Regions from separate parts of the Homo sapiens genome. Here regions 2, 3 and 4 are each linked to region 1. The links are contacts of gene promoters, found by promoter capture Hi-C in blood cells and fetal thymus (Javierre and others, 2016). All regions are on one chromosome and are shown on one strand. Each heading gives the region's core, a stretch centred on a gene start or on the middle of the fragment in contact. The rest is flanking DNA. Distances are from core to core; before and after follow the strand shown.

What was found. The method cuts DNA at HindIII sites, captures the fragments that hold promoters and counts their contacts. A CHiCAGO score of 5 or more calls a contact.
Region 2: a fragment that was not itself captured here is called in contact with the fragment with the promoter of SEMA6A in region 1 in 1 of 17 cell types (endothelial precursors); the score reaches 8.6 in endothelial precursors.
Region 3: a contact is called between a fragment that was not itself captured here and the fragment with the promoter of SEMA6A in region 1, in 1 of 17 cell types (M0 macrophages). The highest score is 5.2, in M0 macrophages.
Region 4: a fragment that was not itself captured here is called in contact with the fragment with the promoter of SEMA6A in region 1 in 1 of 17 cell types (endothelial precursors); the score reaches 6.2 in endothelial precursors.

What each region holds. Positions count from the first base shown.
Region 1 is chr5:116,572,877-116,577,766 of GRCh38, forward strand. SEMA6A (semaphorin 6A) reads right to left here and starts at 1,947. Exons shown (of 19, transcript NM_020796.5): 1 at 1,309-1,947. It overlaps SEMA6A-AS2 (SEMA6A antisense RNA 2), which reads left to right and starts at 1,542. Exons shown (of 3, transcript NR_147170.1): 1 at 1,542-1,663. RefSeq lists enhancers at 1-5, 4,643-4,890 and a silencer at 1,703-1,782. The HindIII fragment of the contact is 8,307 bases long and covers 1-4,890 here.
Region 2 is chr5:118,953,749-118,959,033 of GRCh38, forward strand. The region is part of intron 1 of DTWD2 (DTW motif tRNA-uridine aminocarboxypropyltransferase 2); the gene reads right to left. Among named protein-coding and RNA genes, the nearest start is that of MIR1244-2, 18 kb to the right of the region's middle. The HindIII fragment of the contact is 207 bases long and covers 2,623-2,829 here.
Region 3 is chr5:118,605,278-118,610,089 of GRCh38, forward strand. It overlaps LINC02215 (long intergenic non-protein coding RNA 2215), which reads left to right. Exons shown (of 5, transcript NR_104998.1): 2 at 4,462-4,600. Among named protein-coding and RNA genes, the nearest start is that of LINC02215, 11 kb to the left of the region's middle. The HindIII fragment of the contact is 1,059 bases long and covers 2,183-3,241 here.
Region 4 is chr5:118,798,858-118,803,634 of GRCh38, forward strand. No RefSeq gene overlaps it. Among named protein-coding and RNA genes, the nearest start is that of MIR1244-2, 170 kb to the right of the region's middle. RefSeq lists an enhancer at 306-1,505. The HindIII fragment of the contact is 543 bases long and covers 1,271-1,813 here.

The sequences.
Region 1 (4,890 bases), core at 697-3,196:
CTTTCCAGGAGCGCCTGGTCTAGTGACCCCGCCGCTGTAAAGTGGGAGGAGGCGCTGGGCGGAGGGGCGGCGAGGGAGCGGGAAAAACAGCGGAATTCTGTTTCCTTTCCCGACGTCCACAAGCCCGGGACCGCTCCCTGGCTCCCCCCGTGCCGCTCGGGTCTTGCGAGGAGGGAGGAGACCTCAGGATCCTGTTTTGCACCATCTCCCACAGCGAGGAGCTGAGCAAAACGCGGAGAATCGGGACAAGAGACACTTCCCGCCCCAGAAGGATCAGGCAGGGTGGGTGGGCACTGCCCGGCTTACTCTCCAGCGCCCCATTGCCCCCATGGTAGCGCCCTAGGACACAGTGAGGAGTCGGAACAGAGCCCTAGTCTGGGTTTCAAACCCAGGGCCATCTTCTGCCAGGTCTCTCACCCTTCCCCCTCCTGGGTCATCTTTCCAGAGCGAGACCGCGCTGATCTGGGAGGAGGGCGTACCGTGCGCCAGCCCGGTGCAAAGGGCTCGGTGCTTCAGGAGGGACGCAGCCGCGACGGGCTATATCCTTGCCGCTCGGGTTGGGAGCTGCGGCGGGGGACAGGACCCATGGCGGGGGCGCCGCGTCACCCGAACGGCTGCTCCCGGACACTTATTCGAGCAAACAAAGCCCGGAACCTCTGGTGGCAGCGGCCACAGGAGCCAGGATCTCACCGAGAGACAGGGCGCGCGGGTGCCTAGAGCCATTACAAGTTTCTTGCACTCCACGGAGCCCAGCCCAGACCCCACACTGACAACAAAAGATTCTCTCCGCTTCCACACCGTCTCCGCGGAACCCCTTCTCCCACCTGGCACTGGACGAAAACAGCGCTGTTATACCCAACCCCCTCCAGCCCTCGAGGGCAGAACCCCTTCCCCTGCCTTCGACACACCGGGCCAGGGAGCTTCCGAGAATCCCACCATTTAGGGCCCGCTCTGCTCCCTGCTGGGCACGCGGGAGGATGAGCCTTGGGTCTCGCACACACACCCCCAGGAGGAACAGCCATACGCGCCGTCGCGGCCCGGGGCGGCGCCGGGCGTGTGCGCAACGCGGGTGGGAAAGCTCTCGACGTGGAGCCGGACGCACTCTGGGGCGCAGGGCAGAGAGGAAAGGCAGGCAGGGCTCACGGCTGCTCCCCCAGGACCGGGCAAGGCTCGGGAAACAGAGACACAAGACAAAATAAAACGCAGGCACCACAAAGCCGACAGCACGCGCTAGCCACGGCCCCGGGACCCTCAGGCTGGAGTCCAGCTGCCCGGGAGGTGGGGCGCGCCCGGGCGCCCGGGGCGTACCTTTTCGGTGCATCGACGGACAGGCGGCCGGGGCTCGGAGCGAACTGGTACAGCGTGTATCCCATTTAGTAATCCATTATCGAGGGGATCTCTCCGGGCCGCGGGCTGCGCTCTCTCCTTCGCAAGCCTTTGTCATTCCTACATGTGTGCTTGTCTCTTTGGGGGAAATAGTCGCGGCGACTACTTTCTGGGATGCAAACGCGATGTGTTCATCTCCAATGACGAGCGGAGAAGGGGAGAGGAAAAAAGAAGCCAAAAAAAAAAAGAAGAAAAAGAAAAAGAAAACCAACAAGGAAGAGGGTAAATGTTCAAGAAACTCTTCTCCAAATCCAAATTCCACTTGGATTCCACTTCGGTGAGTCCCCTTGGTGGTGTCTGCGCCGATTAACAAGTCATTTCAGGGCGGGGGGCGGGGTGGGGGCTGGGGCAGGGGTGCAAGGCTCTGGCCCGGCTCTGCGGCCGGCAGCGCGGTGCCGCGGGTGTGGTGATGCTGGCCGCTGCTACACGCTGCTAAGCGGGCATCGCGGGCGACCGGCACCGCGGAGGAGCGCCGCTGCTGGGTTCCGAGCGCCTGGGCAGCCGAGTGCGCGGGGAGCGGAGTTGGCTGCAGCCTCACCCCGTGCCGCTCACTACTCCTCTGTCACCGGAGAGGCCGCCGCTCCCGGGCGGAGCCAAGTCCCGGACTGGATTGCGCAGATCGGACTCTCCTTCCGCAACTCCGCCTACTTTGGCTGGCGTCTCCTCCGACCCAAAGGAGAGCTGTGGTGTATGTGAGTGCGAGTGAGCGAGGCAGAGGCGGAGAAACTACGCGGTGTGGCTGCAGGTGGAGCCTTGGACCAACTGGCCAGCGCCGCTTCCTTCCACCAGGATTCCTGGCCCCACCGCGCGCTAGGCGGAGGCTCAGCGGGGGCGACTCTGGCTGGAGCCCAGCCCTCACCTCCCCCACCCCCACATCTGCTCTAGCTAGGAAAAAAAAAAAGAAAAAAAAAATCCCGGACAGCATTGCTGAGTCCTGCCAAATCAGAAAAATAAATAAAAATAGACGTAGTGCAGGAGCGAGTTACAAGAAAGGTTTTGTTCATCGATTTTCTTAAATGGAAAAGTTTTAAAGGATGAGGGTAAGTGAACGGCGAGCTTTTCTGATTCTGATTACTGTTATCAAGAGGTAGATTCCAGAAGCGATGGACGCTCTACGTAGTTAGATGAATTGGATAGAAGCCGGTGCGGTTAAAAATACACTTGGAAGATAAGAACACAGCTATTAATTACGCACATACACACGTTAATAAAGCATGTGAAGTAAGCAAATAAACTACAGTGCAGAGAATGGCGTTTTTAACGACGGCGATCTATTTTAAAACTTAATGAAGTTCACATTTTGTGGACTGGTCTTAGAAATAAGTAAACTTCAGAAATAACACGCATACAATTCCAGTGAGAACCCAAAAGGTTTATGGAAGAAGAAAATCGCAACCACTTCCAAGGCGCTATTGTTATGATCACATGAAGAATGGCAGGCACAGCCTTCTTTCACCACTTGAACTTTCAATAGCTACAAAGTCTTGCAGTTACAGGCTTGTGCCAACTCGTCGGGCCACACCACGTTCCCCTCCCCCTGCCGCTGCGCCCCGAAATCAACTGCGCGCCGCGGCTCTTGCTCCCCAAGGGGGCTTCGCAGATGGTACGGATCCTAGTCGCAACCTTTAAACAAAGTAACATCGGGCGGCCCAGCAGTTCTCGGAGAGATATTTACTAGTCATGGAGTTGGCTGAGAAAAGCAAGTGCGGAGATCGGGGTCTCAGTCCCACTTAGGCCGAGTTTCTTTATATTGGAAACTGTACCTGTTCCCTAATTGGGACTAAGACCACTAATAAGTCCACGTTCCCTCTTTGGTCGCTTCTCTAAGTACAGACATCTGCTTAAGAGGCTTCACGAAGAATAAATGCACATGGGTCAACACCCATTCCCCCCGCACCACTACCACCACCTGGAAAAGGTAGGGAGAATGGTAGGAAAAAAAGAAAAAATCAGTACCCCTGCTGTTCTCCAGAGCTGTCAGCAGGGGCCGCTATCCCCACCTTTCTCGGGCAAAGGCCTCTATAGACCTGGGGTAGTGGGGGGCGCGGCCCTAGGTGCGCGCGCAGCCCCCGCGGCTTCAAGAGCCAGCCTCGGGAGGGGGTTGGGGAGTGTGGGGCGGTGGGTAGGATTGCGCTTTCCCGCGGGTTGGGTGGGGGCCGGCTCCAGGACGTCTCCTCAGAATCCCGCGGGGTTAGGAGAAGGATCTGGCGGCCAAGACGGCTGGATCCCCGGCTGCGCTATTTAACACCCAGATTTTGGCTGATGACTGCAGGGTCAGTGTGAGCTGGTCCCCTGGCTCGTCCGTGCGCCCCAGGCGCGGTACTGCAGCCCCTTCGAAGCTCCGGACCCTTCGGCCTCCGGGGTTTTTTGTCCCGCGCTCCACCCAACCGGGGTCGCCGAGGCTCCTTCTTCGCTCCCCGCCGCCGATTTACATGCTAATTGTGTCTGGGAAAAGTTCTTAAATTGGCAGAATTAGGCAGAGCAAACGAATTGTTTCACAGGCCGAACTAAATTAATTTCGGGTTTAGCTCCTTCCCTTAGAGAAACAAACAATTAAGTTGTTTTATTTGCTTTATGGATATATTGGAAATGCCCCACAACGAGTTTCAGGATATTGTTTAAAGGGACATTATATTCAATATTAATACTTGCATGTTTAATTTGTAGTAACGCTGAGCCAAGAAGCGAGCGATTAAATTTACCTAATTTAAAATTATAGAATACGAGAGTTAAAGAATTGGAGTCTACTTTTCACAGTGAAGAAATACCACCCAGAATCTTCCTGGCAATTACTAGATCCTAGTCTCACCATCCAAGTAGGAGCCCTTCCTTCTGACCACGTGATATTACATTTCCACCTGCCAGAAAAGATGCTCCCGGAGCTGGAAGAAAAGCCAGCTATTGTCAGGCTCCCGAAACCCCCAGGGGAGCACCTGTGGGGAAGCCAGGCTATGAAACCTCATGATGTCATTTCCCCATAAGTGCGCCTCAGACTCACTTCCAGAAGCCTGCAGTAAGTTTTCAGTAAAACCACTGCCCCTTCAAAGCCTTTGAAGTCTGCAATTTATACCCTGTCCCTTCAGGAAAAGAAAGCCAAAGAGTTAAAGAATCACAGAGTGATGAGAAGGTGACTTCAGTGGTTTTTTTTAAAGTGACGTAAAATGGAGTGTTTGAGGCCCTGGTCTCTGGAGGCCATCTGCGGTTAATGTAACTTAGCTGGTGATCTTGGGCAAGTCACTTATCTCTGTGAAGTCCCAGTGGATTCACCTGTAAATGGGGATTCTTATTCTACTCACTTCCCGAGGAGCTCGTGGATTACATTAGATGATCTTCGTAAATTCGGAGTCTAAGGCTGACACTGCTTTATAAAGATTAAGTGTCACATTGTCATCCTTGCCATCCTCCACATCAGTCCTACCATCACATTTTACAGGAGTCACATGGAAGCACAGCGGACAGAAGTGGCTTGACCTGTGTCAGCGATTGGGTCAGGGCTGGGAGCTA
Region 2 (5,285 bases), core at 1,476-3,975, 2.4 Mb after region 1:
ACTGCCACAAGGATGCCAGCAGAAAAGGGTCATCTAAGGTTGCTCTACAATGCCACAAATGCAAATTTGTGGCTCCTGGCCTATATCTTTCTGGTATTAGGTGTGGCCTAAAGTAGTCTTATGCACCTGAGTGTCTAGCAACTGGTGCTCTGCCTGGTATCTTATCCCAGATATCTGCAGAGCTTAAAGATTCACTTAGACCAGGTCTTTGCTCCAATGCCCCATTCTAAAATAATCCAAGGCAAGGCATGGTGGCTCATGCCTGTAATCTCAGAATTTTGGGAAGCTGAGGAGAAAGGATCACTTGAGCACAGGAATTCGAGATCAGCCTAGGAAACATAGCAAGACCTCATCTCTACTAAAAATTTAAAAATTAGCCAGACACGGTGGTGCACAGCTGTAGTCCCAGCTACTTGGGAGGCTGAAACAGGAAGACTGCTCATACCCAGGTGTTTGAGGATGCAGTGAGCTATGATCACACCACTGTACTCCAGCCTGGGCAACAGAGAGAGAAAAACCCTAGCAATGAATCAATCAATCAATCAAATCATCCACCTTTTCTCTCACTATCACTCTCTATCCCCTTATTCTGACTGATTTTTCTTCACAGCATTTTACTACTATTTGACATTATGTTAGCTGAATGTGGGTTTCCTTCTCTAAAATGTAAGCTACAGGGAGGCAAGGACTTAGCCTACCTTTTTCACTGCTATATCCCCAGCACCTGGCATAGTAGGTGCTCAATAGATATTGCTGAATACATAAAGGATTTTTTTCTTTTTTTGAGACAGGTGTCACTCTGTCACCCAGGCTGGAGTGCAGTGGCATGATCTCAGTTCACTGCAACCTCCGCCTCCCAATTCAAGCAATTCTCATGCCTCAGCCTCGTGAGTAGCTGAGGTTACAGGTGTGCACCACCACATCTGGCTAATTTTTGTATTTGAATAATTAATGTTATTTTTGGATTTTTTTTTGTAGAGGTGAAGTTTCTCAAATTCCTGGCCTCAAGTGATCCACCTGCTTCGGCCTCCCAAAGTGCTGAAGTTACAGGCGTGAGCCACCGTGCCCAGCCTGAAGGAATATCTTTACATTCCGTCTTCTCTAAACCTTTGAATGCTTTTCTCCTCCTATACAATTTTCTATCCCATTCGTTAATTTTTTTTTATATATCAAAGTTTAATTTCTCCTTTATGCCCTCTCTGGTACTTAAGTAATTCATTTGTATTACAAATGAAATTCAGAGTGTCAGGTCTTCCTTTATTATATTTTGTGATCATTTTGATAAGTGATCGCACATAAAAGACAAAAATATTTACTGAAGAAAACAGTTACTAAAAAAATAGCTAAACAATTTATGTGTAAACACTATAAGCGTGATTTAACCTAAAACTAATTGCTTTAACTCATGATTTTATATGCTCACAAAACATTTTCTATTTACTTTAAAGCATATTCTCTTTATTAACCTAATTTTACTTATAATTACTTCAAACTAATAAAACTGTAGCTCTTTAAAACATCTCAACTAGCTTTATATTTAGCAAGTTACTTTATAGGACGCATTTCTGCTTTATTACCTTACTATCAATCTTTCCTCCCCGACAATGCTCTGCATGCATGGTAATGGTGATTAGCTGACCAACTGTTAAACCATCTCTTCCTAAACTAGTGGGTAAGTGCAGAGTAACTGCTCTCCTCATTCTAAAATCTCTCTAGAAGGTTTAAATATTTAAATTAATAATGGATTGAATAATTTATAAATTCAACAAATTTTTATTCAAATATTTACTGCATACCTAAGTGCCAGATATTAGGCACTTGGGACAATAAAAAGAACAAAGATTCCTACCCTCATGGAGCTTATTTGTTCTCACTGTGCCAGAAATAATTTTTTAAAAGTTCCTTGCTTCTCCAGGCACATAGCAGGGTGCAGCTACTCAGGAGGCTAAGGCAGGAGGATCACTTGAGCCCACTTTGAGGCTGTAGTAGTACAACCAGTGAATAGCCACTATGCTCCAGCCTGGACAACACAGCAAGACCCCTATCTCTTAAAAAAAAAAAAAAGTTCCTTGCTTCCTATGAACTATTATACTTGACAGGCAAAAAATATCACATAACTATATATCAAAACTGATTATTTGTAAATAATGAATATTCATTTTTTTTTAATCAAGCTACTTCTAGAATTTATATAGATATGAGAAATAAAAACTAACATCTAAAGAAATATACACTGGTCAACTGGGTATAGGTTTGGGGAATAACTATTATAATGTCACTACCAATGTTATTGTCTTGCTATGTGACCTTGGGCATGTCACAGATTTTCAATTTCCTTCCGAACAAAACTGGTAACAATAAGGCAACAAGAGAGTTCTGGGGAATAACTACTGCATTACAGGCAAACATTCTGGCTATTATTTTGAGCTAATTTATAACAGACTGACCAAAATAGGTGCTGAGATTTTTCCCTTTTCTATATTTATAATGTATTTACAATGTATTTTTCCGCTCATCGGGGTTTATCTTCTTTAAAACCTATACAACCCAATTAATGTAATTACATTCTTAAAATATAAATGAAACCTTCAAATCATTTCCCCAAGGAAATTCTGTGAAATAAGCTTTTTCTTCTTTTCTCATTAAGGATGTAGAAATAAATACATGGGCTTCCTGTCAGACTAAGACTGACTTGCTTCCTAAACAAATGCTGTAATACAAAGGTAATGTGTATCACTCTGGGCATACTATCTCTGACAGCCTGTGGGCTAATAAAATTATATCTGACATATGACTAGAGATGCTAGGACCTACAAAAAAATCTTTCAAAGCTTTAATTAAATTTCTTATATAATATTCACTGAAAGCTTTTTTCTCACAGTACTGATTTTAATCAAGGTGATTCAAATAAGTAAACTTTAAAGATTAGTGAACAGATTTACAAGTACTCTTTTTAAAGAGTACTAAACAAAAGCAAATGTGGAACCCAGAAAAATAGTGCACCTCAACTTTACCAATACTCAACAAAATTTTTATACTCCTAACATAGCGAAAAAGCAAAGAACAAAAAGTTTCATAGCTATTCATTCAACTAGTTGAATAGATACACTGCATTACACATAAAAATGGCAACAATTTTCCAATTTTAAAACTGGCTTTGGAAAACTAAATACCATAGTGCCCTCTGCTGTCATTTTAAAGAAACTAACGTGATCTGTAAGATAAAGTCATTGTCAGATTTCTGAAACTATATATCCAACATAACCAATAAAAGTAGAAATAGCTTTACATGATTAACATTATAATACATTTTCATCTCCAAAACAGAAGTAGATAACATCTTCCATGTCTGACTGCTTCAAGTACAAATAACAATAATATTCCCATACCCTGCAAAATTGTTTTCCTTACTAGATTCTCTTATAACTGGCTTTAGGAGTGGAGGAAGGATAGACTTAGAAAAAATATACTGTTGTGATTTTTTTTTTTCTGAGACATAGTCTTGCTCTGTCACCCAGGCTGGAGTGCAGTGGCATGATCTCGGCTCACTGCAACCTCCACATCCCGGGTACAAGCAATTCTCCTGCCTCAGCCTCCCAAGTAGCTGGGATTACAGGGGCGCGCCACCATGCCTGGCTAATTTTTGTATTTTTAGTAGAGATGGGGTTTCACCATGTTGGCAAGGTTGGTCTCGAACTCCTGACCTCGTGATCTGCCTGCCTTGGCCTCACAAAGTGCTGGGATTACAGGTGTGAGCCACCGCACCTGGCCACTGTTGTGATTTTTTAATTACAGTGTGAAGTTGTCCTATCCTAAAACGGTGATATATATAATATATATCTGTTTTAAATATATATACACATTTGTTTTTCTTTTTGCGAATTGGGCAGCCTCCCACAAAGGAATAGATTCAGAAACACTCCCAAGAATAAATGTCTTTAGATGAGAGTTTCAGAGACTTGTGCCCCAGAGGGCATGCCTAGAGCAGTGAAGAAATTATCAAGTTTATTTGAATTGTGGACTTGCATCTTACTATCCTTAACAGGGAATCTCACCCGAAATATATATTGTGCTTTGAGATAATAAATAATAATAGTGAGACTCCATTATACTATCATTACTGACCAAAACATTTTTAAAGACTTTATCTCACCAATACTTCTTCCTTTTTTGATATCTAGTTTTGTGTATGTTTTATGAGGTGCATCATATACTAATATACAATAAGTGTGTGTAATTAGAGAAAAATAAGCCTATCTATTAAAATGCACCCTAATTTTTTTAAATCAACTGCAGTATGTAATCAAAATAATTATATCACTGGCCTAGACATGTTTGTTCCTACTAGATCTATAATTAATATAAGTTTTCATGTGAAACCACAAGTTGGTTATTTGAAAGAATAAATCAGACAGACCACTGGCGGCCAGGCGCGGTGGCTCACACCTGTAGTCCCAGCACTTTGGGGGGCCAAGGTGGGCAGATCATGAGGTCAGGAGCTCGAGACCATCCTGGCTAACACAGTGAAACTCCGTCTCTACCAAAAATACAAAAACAAAATGAGCCGGGTGTGGTGGCAGGTGCCTGTAGTCCCAGCTACTCCAGAGGCTGAGGCAGGAGAATGGCGTGAATCCGGGAGGTGGAGTTTGCAGTGAGCCGGGATCACGCCACTACACTCCAGCCAGGGCAACAAAGCAAGACTCCGTCTGAAAAACAACAACAACAACAACAACAACAACAAAAGACCACTGGCTAGACTAATAAAGAAAAAAAGAAAATCCAAATAAAGAATCAGAAATGACAAATATAACATTAACACCAACCCCACAGAAAGACAAAAAAAAAAAAAAAAGACTATTATGAACACCTCCACGCACATAAACTAGAAAACCTAGAAGAAATGGAACCTACAAGCCAATATCCTTGATGAACATAAATGCAAAAATCCTCAAAAAAAATTAGCAAACCGAATCCAGCAGCACATCAAAAACAAATTCACTGCAATCTGATCAAGTAGGTTTTATCCCTAGGATACAAGAATGGTTCAATATACGCAAATCAATAAATGTGATTCATCACACAAAGAGAACAACAAAAACCACATGATCATATCAATAGATGCAGAAAAGGCTTTCAATAAAATCCAGCATCCCTTCATGTTAAAAATCCTCAACAAACTAGGCACTAAAGGAACTTACCTCAAAATAATAAGAGCCATCTATGCCAAACCCACAGCCAACATCATACTGAACGGGCAAAAACCAAAAGCATTCCCCTTGAGAACT
Region 3 (4,812 bases), core at 1,462-3,961, 2.0 Mb after region 1:
CATCATGACAACTCTCCTTCATGTCCTCCCCATCACTTCTACCCTACTCCACCACTGAGCCAACTTAGTACTGGACTTGCAAACTAATCTGGCCTTACTTAAGCACTTTTGAATTTTATTAATTTTTAAACATTTTAAAAATTATTATTATTATAATATTATTATTATTATGGAGACAGAGTCTCACTCTGTCACCCAGGCTAGAGTGCCATGGCACAATCACAGCTCACTGCAGCCTCAACCTCCTGGGCGCAAGCAATCTGCTCACCTCAGCCTCCTCAGTAGCGGGGACCACAGGTACGTGCCACCACGCCGGGATAATTTTTTTTTTTTTTTTTTTTTTTTTGTAGAGAGGAGGTCTCTCTGTGTTACCCAGGCTGGTTTCAAACTCCTGGCCTCAAGTGATCCTCCTGTGTCCGTTTCCCAAAGTGCTGGGATTATAGGTGTGAGCCACCACACCCAGCCAAGTTATGAATTGTAAAATCATCTTCCTCAATCCCCCACTTCTGGGCTGCCATGCAGAATGTGAGCAAGAAATGTGAAGGCTTATTTCCTAAGATGAATGCTGAAAATTTTTTCAAAGTGATCGTGGGTGGCTTGGACCGCCTCAGCTTCGAAACCCACTTTTTCCTGTTTTCACACTTGACTTTGTGTGTCACTGACCAGCAGGTATGAGAACTGAGGTTCCTTCAGCTGTGCCAAGTGCAGCCTCTTGTTCCTCCTAGCTCTACTCCAGTCCCCTATCAGTAAAGCTTTGCTTCAGATGAAGTCCTTCACTTACCAAAATTAACTGCTGCTGTGTCCAAATCTAGGTAGGAAAAAATTCACCTTTCTTTTTTCCTGCAGCAATCTTGCACTCTGAAATATCACTACTTCAGAAATAGACCCTCTCCAGTTCTAAACTGTTAGTCCTTACCTCTTCTACCTTAAACAAGATGTTTTAAAATAAAATATTTTACTTATAAAAATCCCTTTATAACTTTTTCTGATTTTTAAAAATGAAACCTATCAATTTTGTCTAGATTTTCCTAGAAAAATAATCATAGTTACACAGCTGGTATTTAAACTTCTATAAACCCTTACGTATATATTTCATTGTATATATTTAAAACATTGTATATATTTAAGACACAACAACAAAGCACTTAAGAACATAGCTATTTTCTCTGAGATATTCGACCTATTATTTGGATATACAACTATCAGAAAGAGGAGGAGTGCATGGTTATGACATCAACATTGGATATTCAGTTCTCCCGTAAATGTGGTGAATTCAACAGAAGAAAAAAAAGGAAGGAGAGAAGAAGGGATACCTTTACCTTACTAACTCTTTTCACTTAAAAAAATAAAGCCTCAATATTAAGATCACTAAAATTTATTTTAAAAAGTATTCCTAATCTCTTTATACTGTGTTTTAAAGACATTCAGTTAGAAAGAGATTTAAATAAATACAAATATCTGCACTACTATTAGTTTTATTTGTTATTAAGTGTCAACAGCTCAAACACTGCTTCTCACCCTGGGATTCTACCCCAGGTTTGGACAGACTCCTCTTTTAACTTGCCCTGAATTAACCTGGAGACCAAAGTTTGCCTGGGTGTCTTCACACTTCTAGTTCCTCTAGAGTTGCTTTATATGAAAAGCCCTTACAAACTGCTTTCATAATGTCAAATCATCCTTCTCCCAGTTTTTTTTTTTTCATTTAAAAAAGAGACCTAGCTAATTTAAAATTAGTCCTAAATAATGTATTTAATTTCTTCATATAGAAGGAGAGCCTAGGCATCCTTTCTGCTATCAGCACTCACCAGAGTGAGCATGTGTGAGCTCGCCCTGTGGGTGGCACCTGAGCTGCAATGAGTGCTCCAGCGTGCCTGACTCTGAGGCCCGAGCCCGTGCTGCACGTGTGGTACCCATGTTCTGGACAGCTTGCCCATCAACACCAGGCCTGACATCCTTTCTGTGGGAAACAGACACATAGAGCCAAATAGCATGTCTCGGTAGTCAGTCATTAACATGAAATCTCATGATCGCCATTTTATAAATACAAGACAGTCATTTCTACTTCTTTTTATCTTATTTGTAGCTTCAGCCTGTTCTTTTTCTGATTTAGATTGAGTAGGTCCTGTAAACAAAAGATTAGATACACAACTGATGTCTGAAAGAGTTTAGAATTATAAAAACAAGCTTTCTAAAACTTACCATTTAAAAATACATTGCATCATGAATTAGAAATCTCTAAACAATGATACAATGATCTCATCACCAAACAGGGATTTCCTGAGCCTTCCTGGCTAACTCGGATGTTACTGAGAAATACTTCTTCCTTTCTCCTTATATTTCCCTCCTGTGAAGCATGCTAATCAGTGTAATCCCAGATCACTTGTCCCAGTCTCACACTACTCCTAGGGACCAGGTAAAATGGGGGCAGTAGAAGGATGCAAGACTCAGCCCCCTTCCTTCTTCTGTACAACTAGCTTTATCTGAGGAAAGCATATGTTTGGCATAAGTTGTGTAGGGGGAGGCCTACCTCACTCTAATGCTAACTGGATTTGAACGGTTATGTCTGCCTAATTCTGGAGTTCAATATTAACCTGACCATTTCAATAACAGACTTTATATTTGATATTTTGGTATCTACATTTTCTCTGGTTTTTTGCCAACTTATCCAAAACCTAGAAAGGCAAGAGGGTTTGTTATGTTTTTAATGGGGGCACCAAACTTATGTGATACAGCATATACTTAGGAATTTAAAAGGTTCCCCCTTTAAATAATACAAGTTTAAAAAACATGTATTATTAGGCTTGAAGACTTTGTGGATAACTGGAAATAAATGTGCATTGTTATATTCTGATGACTAGAAGCACTCATCTGCAAGGAAATTGTCAGTAAATTATGAATTGTGTTATATACATAATTCAGCATTAGAATGTTGGAAACGCAATCACACTATACAGATGATTCACACCTAAACCATGGTGCATTGAAGAAAACTAGTGTGCAAAAGAACTGATTTAAAATACATTGTCCTTTCTCATAAAAATAACGTTAGGGTTCAATTTGTAATCCCAACGTGAAAGACAATATCAGATAAATCAGAGCCCTGATCAGTAAATATCTATTCAAATAATTCAAAAGAAATAGGTTAAAAAGATCCTTTGGAACTACTCACCCCAAGTATATTCTATGAAACATGAATCTATAAGATGTTTCATTCAATATAAAAAGTTTCCTTGATCAATGAAGCTTAGGGAATAAATTATGCTATTATCTCTCCTCCCGAAGCTTTACAATGTAGACTAACATATTAAAGGCTCTGTGAAGCCCAGCATAATTTGTTTTAACCCAGCATTCATCAAACACGTCTAATTGCAGAACATTATTTTCAAGTAGCATCAATTAATTCCCATGGAACACACTCTGGGAAATGTTATAATAGCAAGTATTATTAAGATGTAACACCCAGGCTGGGCGCAGTGGCTCACGCCTGTAATCCCAGCACTTTGGGAGGCCGAGGCAGGTGGATCACGAGGTCAGGAGATCGAGACCATCCTGGCTAACACGGTGAAATCCCATCTCTACTAAAAATACAAAAAACTAGCCGGGCATGGTGGCGGGTGCCTATAGTCCCAGCTACTCGGGAGGCTGAGGCAGGAGAATGTCGTGAACCCGGAAGGCGGAGCTTGCAGTGAGTCCAGATCGCGCCACTGCACTCCAGCCTGGGCAACAGAGCGAGACTCCATCTCAAAAACAAAAAAAAAAAAAAAAAAAAGATGTAACACCCAAATTCCATAAGGAACACTGATAGATAGCATATTGCCCCAGTTCTTGCACTCTTGGTGTTATCTGAAATGCAGGGGTAGGACTCACACTCCACAGAGTTTCATCAATGAATTTAAGTAGCAGCAAAATTTATATAATGCATATATCAAACATTACATTATGAGACTGCATAAAGACTGAGACTTGAGACTATCTGGGCACTTTACATGTATAAAATCCATTCACCTCACCAGCAATCACTGAGGTGGGGACACTGGAACGAACTTGACTCTGTCTTCCAAGGACCTTCATTGCATTCCTTGAGTTAGAATTAGCCAAGGATTTTCTCTCAGCTTTTTCCCAAGAAGGCCATCAACTTTCCTTCCTGCTACTACCACACCTGCCTTTCTAGTTGCCCAGATTGTAATGTCTCAGCTTCCCACCATCTGGATAATGACAGGCCATATAGAAGTTGTTAGTTGTCCACCTAACTCTCTACTGCAGTGGGAATTTCTTTAAATTCCATCTGCGGTTATCTATTCTGAGAGTCATGGTTCCCAAACTGTTTGCCAAGGTGTTCTCGGATACTACAGTAATCTCACAGGTAACTTATGTATATTATTTTTTCATAAAGCTGTTAAGTTGTTAGGTATAAATACTTAAATTGTTTGGAGCTATGTACTTAATAAACACAACTGCTAGGTTTTTCTTTTGGCCTAGGCGTGACTGTGAAAAATATACTGAATCACTAAGGGCACTAAGTTTCTGAAAGTGAGAAAGTTTGAAACCATCTGCCTCAGAGGTTTACAGAAAAGAAAATATCTAAGAGATTTCAGCCTAGGTAAGGAAACATTCATCCACAGATTTATCTCCCCCTTTTGTTAAAAAAAAAAGAAAACTAAAACTACCATAACAATGTTAAAAATCTAAAAAGTTAGTATTATATATGAAAAGATAACTCTCTACTGATATACTGAAACCAAAAAAATAACAAAGAAAGAGCTTTCTAAGTGTATAAAAACTTTATCTCTATGTCAGAGAAAATAATTCAAT
Region 4 (4,777 bases), core at 292-2,791, 2.2 Mb after region 1:
AGACATTGATCTTTCTCATTTCCATTATGCTGTCTTATGCCTTTGATTTTCATCTGAGAACTTATCCCTTGCTCTCTTACAGTCCACTGGATGCTTCAGGTCTCCAGCCCAGCCCCAGGAGAGAAGTCAGTGACCCAGACCTAAGTCAACCAGTGCACAGCATTTCCCCACATCAGAGTCAAGATGAAGAAGTGGGCATGACCTAAATCAGTTCAACCAGAATTAATCCCACAAGTTTTATAGGATCACCTGGAAAAGAGGCAGAGAGTAGTAAGTCTGTAAGGCTAGAACAGCTATAGCAATGCTACTGACCATGGGGAATTTAATCCAGATGAAGCAGAAATGAGAGATGGAGAGAAGAGAGTCCTGGTGATCCCATCTGAGCCCCTCCATCAAACATCCCTACTTGTATTTTTCACTTTCAACTGCCATTAAATACTCCTTTTGCTAAGCCCATTTTGGTTGGTTTTCTGTTACTAACCACTAAAATTACTGGCTATAATGATTTCAGATAAGTCAGATGTTACTATATGGAAATCAATATTTATCAAGCCAATATAAGCGTGTATCAATTAATACTTCTATCCCCAGATTCTATTTTCCTCTTATACTAAACTTCAGGAATTATGAATTCTTCCTGAACGTAAGACTACTATTTTTTGTAGCTGTAACCTAAAGCACATTGGACTATTCCTTCTTGTCTTCTTATAACCCCAAAATAGGAATTATAATTTCTTACTGAAATTTCCCTAAATTTTTTCTCACCAAAATTTAGTTAATTTTTCCCTAAAATTTCTTTACTATATTTCACTGAAATCTACTATGTAGTATTTTCTCTAGATGAAAACTTTCCCTGAAAATTGCAAGAAGTGAAAACATTGGCTTTGAAATGATAGATAATTCATAAACTATTCTTAAGGATTATTCTCAGGAATAATTATTTTGTCTGGCCTACATAACCCTAAATAGTGGTAAAATATACAGTAGTTTAAAACATGGTTAGGGGCCCAATCTAGAACAAAGAAAAACTGCCTGTGAGTAAAACAGTCAAACATGTTTTAGACATGTCTCGCATCCACCAGTGTGAGTCGAGTGCAAAGGGTTACTGTAAACTGACCAGGTATTAGCAGGTCATCTTCAAACCCACATCAACCCACCTCACCTCAGAGCCAGTTCTAGGACCCTCCACGGGTCAGCCTAATTTCCCTTGGCCCAGCCCAAGCTGGCTCTTTCTCTTTGCACAGCAATGCTCACACACCCTGGCCAAAAAAGCTTTCGAAGTATTTCTTTTTGAATGAGCATAAAGTGCCTATTGAGACCAAGAAAGCCTCCTTATTGTGGGGTTGACCTTACCACTGTGTCCACATTCCCCAGAGGTATGGACAGTAGCTACAGCTGAGGAAATGTCATTCAGCAGTTTTTTGCGTATGAAATTTGAGAAATTTGCATGATACATGTGGAGCCAATTGTTCATATCTAAGCATATTAGCTGTTTTTCTCCTGAGAACACAAAAAAGTTATTGAGAGTGAAAAGAAGTCCCATTGGAGGAGGGGAAACCTGAGGGGCCTCCCTGAGTACTATTCACTGCAGGCCTCATTTCATTCCCAATGACTTCTGTGGAAGCCAATTTAAAGAAGGTCACAGGTATTTACCTTTCTTCCCTGTCTGTTTCAATCTGTTTTATAGAGAAGGAGTGAAAATGCCAATGCCAATGCTCATTCTTGAGCCCTTGGTGCATTCGTTCTGCAGATTTTTTTAATACAAGGGTAGACTTTTAAAACAACAAAAGAAAATGTCATTGGAATAGACTTAAGCTTTACTTTGACTTAAGATAGATTTCATTCCTTGGCTTAGACTGGATTACATTCACCTAGTCCTGTCATTTCTTACTAAGGGAGGAGACCACCCCTCATAGTGTATTATGCCCAATTTCTGCCTCCAAAGAAAGAAGTAAAAACTAAAAGGCAGAAATGAAATCCACAAGCAGACAGCCCGGCACCACACCCTGGGCCTGGTAGTTAAAGATCCACCCCTGACCTAATCGGTTATGTTATCTATAGATTATAGACATTGTATAGAAAAGCACTGTAAAAATCCCTGTCCTGTTCTGTTCCGTTCTAGTTACCAGTGCATGCAGCCCCCAGTCACGTACCCCCTGCTTGCTCAATCGATCACAACCCTCTCACACAGACCCCCTTAGAGTTGTGAGCCCTTAAAAGGGACAAGAATTGCTCACTCAGGGAGCTCGGTTGTTGGAGACATGAGTCTTGCCGAAGCTCCTGGCTGAATAAAGCCCTTCCTTCTTTAACTCGGTGTCTGAGGAGTGTTGTCTGCAGCTTGTCCTGCTACATTACAAGTAATGCTCTGTCAGTACAGAGTAGTAGTAGGCATTTATGGCCTACCACATCCTTAAATATCTCCCACCTCTGGTAGTACTGAAACACTGCTCACATAAAGAGCTACATAGGGGATGAGAAGAAAACAGAATTCTGTTTACAAATTCAGGTATTTGATTATTAGGCTAATGTTTGTAAAGTAAGGTATAAAAAATCCAAAAGAGTGGATGTTCCCAAATCCATCTATATTTTCCCTTTTGTATTTATATGTTTATGTCTGATCATTTACTTCAATTAATGTATATGCTTTCACTCACTAAGTATTAATTAAAATGCTTACTTTATGCCAGGTACTGTGCTAGGTGATAAATACACACAAAAAAAATGAAGAAGGAATAACTACCTTCGAAGGCTTAACCCTCTGATAAGGAAAACAAGAGAACAGAAAAAATTTTATAAAGTAAGTAAATATCATAGAATTTTGAGGAAAAAAAAGATGTGCATGTATTTAGGTGCATATGTCACCAGAATGGGTCAAACGGCTACCAGACAAGAAGACTTTCAAGAGCCTTACCTAGGTCCATTTTCATGTACTTGGCCTGGTCTGCTTCCTAGAAAATTCAGAAATCTGATTTTTTTCTTTCAGCATACTAAGCATGAATCTACCTGTGGGACATCAACTTATATTAACTGAGCTTATCAACACTAAGGCATAGCCCAGAATTTTAATTTGCCAATTTACAATGAAACAGCGTTGTCTTGTAGATCATGGACAGAGGAATTGAGATTATATAGCCAGCTCATTCTGCTTCTGAAGACAGATCTACCACATTCTCAATTTTGGTTATACTATACACTCAAAAGAGTGTTTAGATTCGTATAGAATCACAATTAGGGTAATTGTTTTAATGCAACACGTGTTTGATGACTTCGGGCTGTAACAACCTGACTATCCACCTTCACATTAGAGACACATGCTAAAAATACCTAATTTGTTAAGACAACAGTCACCATAACCCAAGCCAAGGCAAAGGCACACTTTTCCTGCTGACCAAACTACATCTTCATTAACTAAATTTTTAAGTTTAAAGAAGAACTAATACCAATTCTACTCAAACTCTTCAAAAAATATTGAAGAAGAGGGAATACTTCCAAACTCATTCTACAAGGCCAGCATTACCCTGATAACAAAACGAGACAAGAACACAACCAAAAAGAAAACTATAGGCAAATATCCCACATGAATATAGTGCAAAACTTCTCAACAAAATACTAGGAAGTCCAATTCAACAACACATTTAAATGGTCTCACCATGACCAAAAGGGATTCATACCAGGGATGCAAGCATGGTTGAACATATGCAAATCAATGAAGGTGACACATCACATTAACAGAATGAAGAACAAAATCCATATGATCATTTCAATAGATGCTTAAAAAAGCACTTGATAAAATTCAACATCCCCTTATTTTAAAAAAAAAAAAAAAAACCATTATCAAACTGGGTATAGAAGGAACATTCCTCGAAAGGCCAAATATTACAAACCAACAGCTAAATCATACTGACCAGAGAAAAATTGAAAGCCTTTTTTTATAAAATCTAAAACAAGGAAAAGGTATGTACCTTTACCACTTTAGTCAGCATAGGACTGGAAGTCTCAGCCAAAGCAATTTAGCAAAAAAAGAAGAAAAAAATGAAGTGTTTCCAAATTGGAAATGAAGAAGTCAAGTTAGCCTTGCTTACAGATGACATGATCTTATATTTAGAAAAAAACTAAATAATCCACCAAAAAACCATTAGAACTGATAAATGAATTCAGTAAAGCCACATGATACAAAATCAACATACAAAGATCAGTAGCATTTATATATGCCAATAGCAAAGAATCTGAAAAAATAAATCAAGAAAGCAATCCCACGTGCTCTAGCTACAAAAAATATAAAATCCCTGAGAATCAACTTAACCTAAAAAAGTGAAGATTTACAAAAGGAAAACTATAAAACACTAAAAAAAGAAATTGAAGAGGACACAAAAAAGTGGAATATTATCCCATGCCCATAGATTGGAATATTTAATATAGTTAAAATAAAAATACTACCCAAGGCAATTTATAGATTCAGTGCAATCCCTATCAAAATATCAATGATTTTTTTACAGAAATAGAAAAAAATCCTAAAATTGATATATAACCACAAAAGACCCCAAATAGCCAAAGTAATTGTGAGCAAAAAGAACAAAGCTGGAGATATTACACTACTTGACTTCAAAATTTACTACAAAGCTATAGTAATCATATCAGCATGACACTGGCATGAAAAAAGACACACAAACCAATGGAACAGAATAGAAAACACAGATATAAATCCTCACATTTACAGCCAACTCATGTTCAACAAAGGTGCCAGAACATACAATGGGGAAAGGACGGTCTCTTTAAT